Linked DNA regions of Homo sapiens: region 1 is linked to region 2. The links are contacts of gene promoters, found by promoter capture Hi-C in blood cells and fetal thymus (Javierre and others, 2016). All regions are on one chromosome and are shown on one strand. The core of a region is centred on a gene start or on the middle of the fragment in contact, and the rest is flanking DNA. Distances in the headings are between cores, read along the strand shown. Region 1 holds the start of SSX2IP (SSX family member 2 interacting protein). Region 2 overlaps PRKACB (protein kinase cAMP-activated catalytic subunit beta).

Region 1 (2,700 bases), core at 65-2,564, 510 kb before region 2:
AGATCTTATTCCTTTCCCGGGGTTGCTGAGGTCAGAGCTAAACTTCCCAGAGCTCAACTAAGCTTGGTTCAAACCTTTTAAAAATGTAACTGTTAATGGTAACGCCACCTGGGCTCAACAGCAGCTAGACGGGCCTCTGATTGCTTGGCCAAAGGAAAAGAGGAGGATTTCGTTGGGCCCTGAAGTTGTCACCGTGGCGTGCTTCTTCTGGCCCTGATCTTTCATCCAGGATTGGGGATACGTGCATGCAAACTGGGAGGTGGACATTCCTCCCGCTCTTGTTTTTCAGTGTTAGCATCTTCACTCATACTGTTTTGGTTTCAAAGTGCTCTCAGGAGTCTCCTTAAAACACCAAACCTGTTTTTCGCCTTTTGAATAAATCCCTTGGCTTCACCAAAACTAAACAAAACAAAAATCAAAGAACATCTTTGTGTAACCTATATGCCTGTGATTTCTCCATCTGATCTCCTTTCTCTGGCCTCTTTTCTTTTCTTCCCCAGTGAATTTTAGGCTGCCATGAAACCAGGGAGGAGACAGCCTGACCCTGGCCACGGGTGCAGCAGGCATACATTTTCATCGCACATACTTTGTCGAGTGGGTGTAAGACATTTTTGCATAAACTGAGTTCACGAATGCTATTTCTTAGTCTTTCCTTTGCCCGCGGTCTTCTGCCCAGATCCATTTCTTCGCCCTAATTTTACATATAACTTTCTCCCGGCTGGATTGTTTGCATCCACGACTCCCGACGCTTGAACCTCCCGTTCCTTGGACCTGACCTAATTCTAGGTGCCCGCAGTTTATTTCTCCACTTTGGCAAACGCACGTGGCTCTCCTGGAAGCTTCACTTTTGCTGCTAGGCTGGGTGTTGGGGTTCAGTGGGGCTCGGAAAACGTGCTCTAAAGTAGCCACGACCCCGGTCCCTGCAGAGTCCCGGCCCCCACAGAGCCCCGGCCCCGGACGCTGCAGGCGTCAGAAGGGGGCGGGGAGCAGAAAACGGCCGGGTGAATCACTGGGCGTAACAGGTGCCGCAGCCGCAGCTGCGCCCGCAGCGCGCGCGGACCGCAGGGATAAGGTCTTCTTTTTCTCCGGGTTTTTTTGGAGGTAAGGAGGAGACTACCGAGGCCCCCACCCGACCAATGCAGGCCACGGTTGTTCATCGCCTAGCAACTGGCGGAGCCAATGGGAGGCGGCGGGGCCTGCGGCGCCGGCGCGCGGGGGCGGGGTGGGAACCTCGGAAACCTGCGGAGGCCGGGAGGCGGCTGCAAGGGGCGGGGAAGGCGGGAGCCCGCAGCGGAGGAGGGGCCGCGGGCGGGAGGCGCTGCGAGGCGCTGCTGGCCCTCGGGCTGCGGGAGCCGGGCTAGGACGCCGAGCGGTGACTCCCCGCCGCTCCCGGGGGCCGTGACGGTGAGCAGCAGCGCCTCGCGTCGGGGATTGTGACGCGCCCCGCCAGGGAGGGGCGGGCGGGGGTGGGCGCCGGCAAGGGGCGGGCGCGCGCGGAGGTGAGAGCCGGCACCTGGCTCAGCGCCCCGTTGTTCGGCGGGAGGCTCCGCGCGGCTGTTGGGGCCGTTGCAGGGTGCGGGCGAGCGTCGACCCGGGCCGCTCCTGGAGGAGGAGGTGGGAGGTAGGTGCTGGCCCCGGGACCGCTCTCGCTGGCGTTCGCGGAGCTGCGCCTGCGGAGCGCTCTGACCCGGGGAGCCCCAAACCCTCTCTGGGATGGAGCAAGGTTGGCGCCCGGCGTTGGGGGACGAGCAGCGCGGGGACGTGGGGGAGGAGGGGATGGCCGATTTGGGGCTGCAGAGTCTCAGCAGCGGCCGTGGGGCATGCGGGGTTTGGCGATTTGCTAGTGCAGCCGCAAGAGGCAGTCTTTAAAACGAGTTATTGGGTGGCCGCTGCAGTGGAAGAGAACCCCGATAGTGGTCTAGTAAAAAGTCTAGGGGAAGAATTTACATCATCCAAGAGGCAGGCATGTGTGAAAATACTTTGGTTTATAATTTTATCATGAAAATACTTTGGTTTAGAATTTTATAGTCAACGACAGTAAACTGAATTGTGAGCTCCCTGCACATTTTTTGAGCCTATGCTGATTGCCCAGTTAGGCATATCGCTTGGGCCCAGGACATAGAATATACTAATTTGCTGTCTGCACGTATAATGTAGGAATTTTTAGATTATTACCCAGTTTCAGGACCCATAGTTGTAAATGCCAAACTGCGATTACTAGCAACGCTGATAAAGTTCTTGAATCTGAGAGAATTGAGATTTCTCTTTTCTGGACGCTGTAATAGGTTGAGGATTAGAAAAGAAGGTGATTTAGAAGTGTAAGGGTGGAGGCTTCTTGAACTTCCTGGGCTTTCTAACAATTCAGATTAGAGTCAAGGTGTAGAGTTAGCTGTGGGTGATGGATGTCATGGACCTTTTCATGGTTCATGGGGGTTTGGCTTACTGTGGGGTAGAAGAAAATTCTGGTGATCCTACAGTTTGATCCTGAACTAGAAAGGTTGGTATGAGTTGACTCATTTAGGAGAGTGAATAAAATTTGTAAAGAATTAGAAATTTGGAGAGGAAAGAAATGCCTTTAAAGTTCACGTCAAGCTATTTTGAAATTTAGAAGTTAGAGGTAGATTTATGAATTTGGATCCAGTCGGCAAAACTTGATCCATCAGATCTCTTATCCTAAAACTATCAACCTACAGGCTTAGG
Region 2 (2,700 bases), core at 14-2,513:
ATTAAGAAGTGAGAGCTAAGTAGGAATAAGAAACAAACTCATAAGAAATTACTTTAAAAATTAGTTATGTCAATTATGCTTAAATAAATATATAATTACTTAAGGTAATTTAAAAATGAATGTGAAAATACTAAGGTCCTAATGACTTAAAGTCCTCTATAAAAGCTGGCTCAAATCTCTGCAATAAGTAGATAGTGATTTTAAATACTTCAGAAGATGAATAAGAAAATTAAAAATGAAGAGAAAGTCCATAACTGAAAAATAGTGAGTAAAAATGAACAATTTTCATTTTATAATATCTAAATAAATATAGGTATAAATTCTAAAAATTTATTTTATATTGCCATAGAAGAGGACACACAAAATATTGGGGAAAAAACTATCTTTATAACAAAAACTATCTTTGTATCCTAGGTCATTTAGACTTAAGCTTCCTCTAGATTTTCTATTTAATAGAAGGGGAAAGTAATTTATCTTGACTTCACGAAGACTGTGATTCTATTCCATATGTGATTCTATTTTGAATTTAAGAAGTGGTGACTTTAGCAAGACATATAAATAATTTTCTTGTATATGTGTAAATCATTAGAAGGTGGCATTCTTTCTTGCTGGAGTCTAATGGTCAATGTGAGGATAGTCACAGAAGTCAAGAAGTTAAATATAAATAACAAAAGTAATTAAAGATACCAGCCAGGTATTAATATATAAAATTAGGAGTATACTGATAATATTGAGCAAATAAATTGAGTAGGAGTCAGATTTGTGTTTTAATCTAGGCCTTTTATTTAACTAACTTTCTGACTTGAGATGATTTCAAATCTTTGGGCCTCAGGTTTTCAAAATTTGTAACATGAAGTGGTTGGATCACTACTGTACACATTTTAACTTCTGTAATAGTTACAAAACAAATTAGTCCATAATTGTCACAATAAATTATAGTTGTCCATCAGTATCCCTGGGGGTTGGTTCCAGGACCTACAGCAGAAACCAAAATGCCCAGGTGCTCAAGTCCCTTATATAAAATGACAGAGGCTTTGCATAAAGCCTATACACACTGTCCATATACTTTAAATCATCTCTAGATTACTTATAATACCTGATATATTGTAAATGCTATGTAAATAGTTGTTACACTGTATTGTTTAGGGAATAATAACAAGAAACAAAAGTCTGTACATGTTAGGTATAGATGTAATTTTTTTCCCAAATATCTTCAATCTGTGATTGGTTAAATCCATGGACGTGGAACCCATAGATATGGAAGGGCTGACTGTATACTAACTATGTATAATATAGTTACAATAAAAATTTAGTTACAATAAAAATTAAATTTAATAATAAAATTATTTGAAGCTGTCAATGGTAAGTCATTATACTGAATCTGTTTAATAGTCTAGCTGATAAAACTAAAGTTTACCCTGAAGGTAAATAACAACAAATACACTCACCTTCTGCTTATCTAAGATCTTCATGGCATAATACTGTTCAGTGGCTTTGTGTTTTACCAACATGACTCTTCCAAATGAACCTGTTCCAAGGGTTTTTTTCCTTTCAAAATCTTCAAGTCCGGCATTATTCTATATGTAAATACATAAATAAAATTTAAAATTCTCGTAAAAACACTATGGGAATTATAAATGCTTTAATAATACATAATCATAATGGATAATCCCATTTATAACTATCCATTTAAATGCAATACAAAAAAGCTATTGAGATTCCAGTTTATTGGTTCTATTTTTCCCTTTGAATAAGAAAGTATTTAATATCTGAGGAGAGAATGTATTGGAAAACAGAGCATAATAGTAATAGGAGGAAATAAGAGCCTCAGCTGAAATATTAAAGATTATATTCCAGTATGCATTCCTAGTATTGGACTTTAATCTTACTACTGAACTTCCAATAAATTAGTTTCATATTTTAATAATTACAAACTGACCAGAGGCATACTGACAAAGAGTCATAGAAGCCATACAGACTTAATGCACTTGCAAATAACTGTAATGAATAGATAAACTGAGGGATCAGAGCTCTTTCACTAAAGTTACCTGTGAAGAAATCAGTCTTGCTTCATTTCTGTCTTTATATAAGCTTATAGAACTAGATAGTAGCAGCATGAGAGAGCCTAGTGGCTTTCTCTCTTTATATTATAAAAACACAGTATTATCTAAAACAACAACAATAAGGAAAGAAGAGTTCCTCATTCTACAAAGAACCAAAAGCCAGAATCCCAGAACAATAATCAGACTCTTTTTTTCTTGAATAGATGTTTTGTTATAAGGAAACATCTTTGTTTGGCTTTGACTACAGCACAGAAGCAAATAATTGGAGGCATCAATCTATTAAATTTGTTCCTGCCACAACAAAATGAAAATTATTAGGGACAAATTATGTGTTAAATGGCAAGAAGTAGTAATTGCTGACCCATTTGTTTAATAGGTTTCATTGCAAAGAACTCCATGAAAATATCAGAAAAATATTCTGAAGGCCCAGTATGTAGTGTTTAGCTTGAAAAAATGTGATGCAGTATGATTCTTTGTCCAGTGAGGAATTTGTATAGGTATTACAGTTCACTGTAGTTGGATTTTATCTGTATTGCAAATCAAACCTTGCCTTTTGAGACCCATTTTAGCTTTCTGTTGGATCATTACAGACAGCAGGCAATTCTGTTTTACTTATAGCTTGTTTTCATCATAGTTT

The links. The method cuts DNA at HindIII sites, captures the fragments that hold promoters and counts their contacts. A CHiCAGO score of 5 or more calls a contact.
Region 1: the fragment with the promoter of SSX2IP here is called in contact with a fragment that was not itself captured in region 2 in 9 of 17 cell types (megakaryocytes, erythroblasts, total CD4 T cells and 6 more); the score reaches 8.1 in megakaryocytes.

What each region holds. Positions count from the first base shown.
Region 1 is chr1:84,689,075-84,691,774 of GRCh38, reverse strand. It overlaps SSX2IP (SSX family member 2 interacting protein), which reads left to right and starts at 1,314. Exons shown (of 14, transcript NM_001166293.2): 1 at 1,314-1,404. RefSeq lists a silencer at 1,103-1,862. The HindIII fragment of the contact is 1,864 bases long and covers 842-2,700 here.
Region 2 is chr1:84,181,077-84,183,776 of GRCh38, reverse strand. PRKACB (protein kinase cAMP-activated catalytic subunit beta) reads right to left here. Exons shown (of 10, transcript NM_182948.4): 3 at 1,449-1,577. Among named protein-coding and RNA genes, the nearest start is that of PRKACB, 38 kb to the right of the region's middle. The HindIII fragment of the contact is 1,661 bases long and covers 433-2,093 here.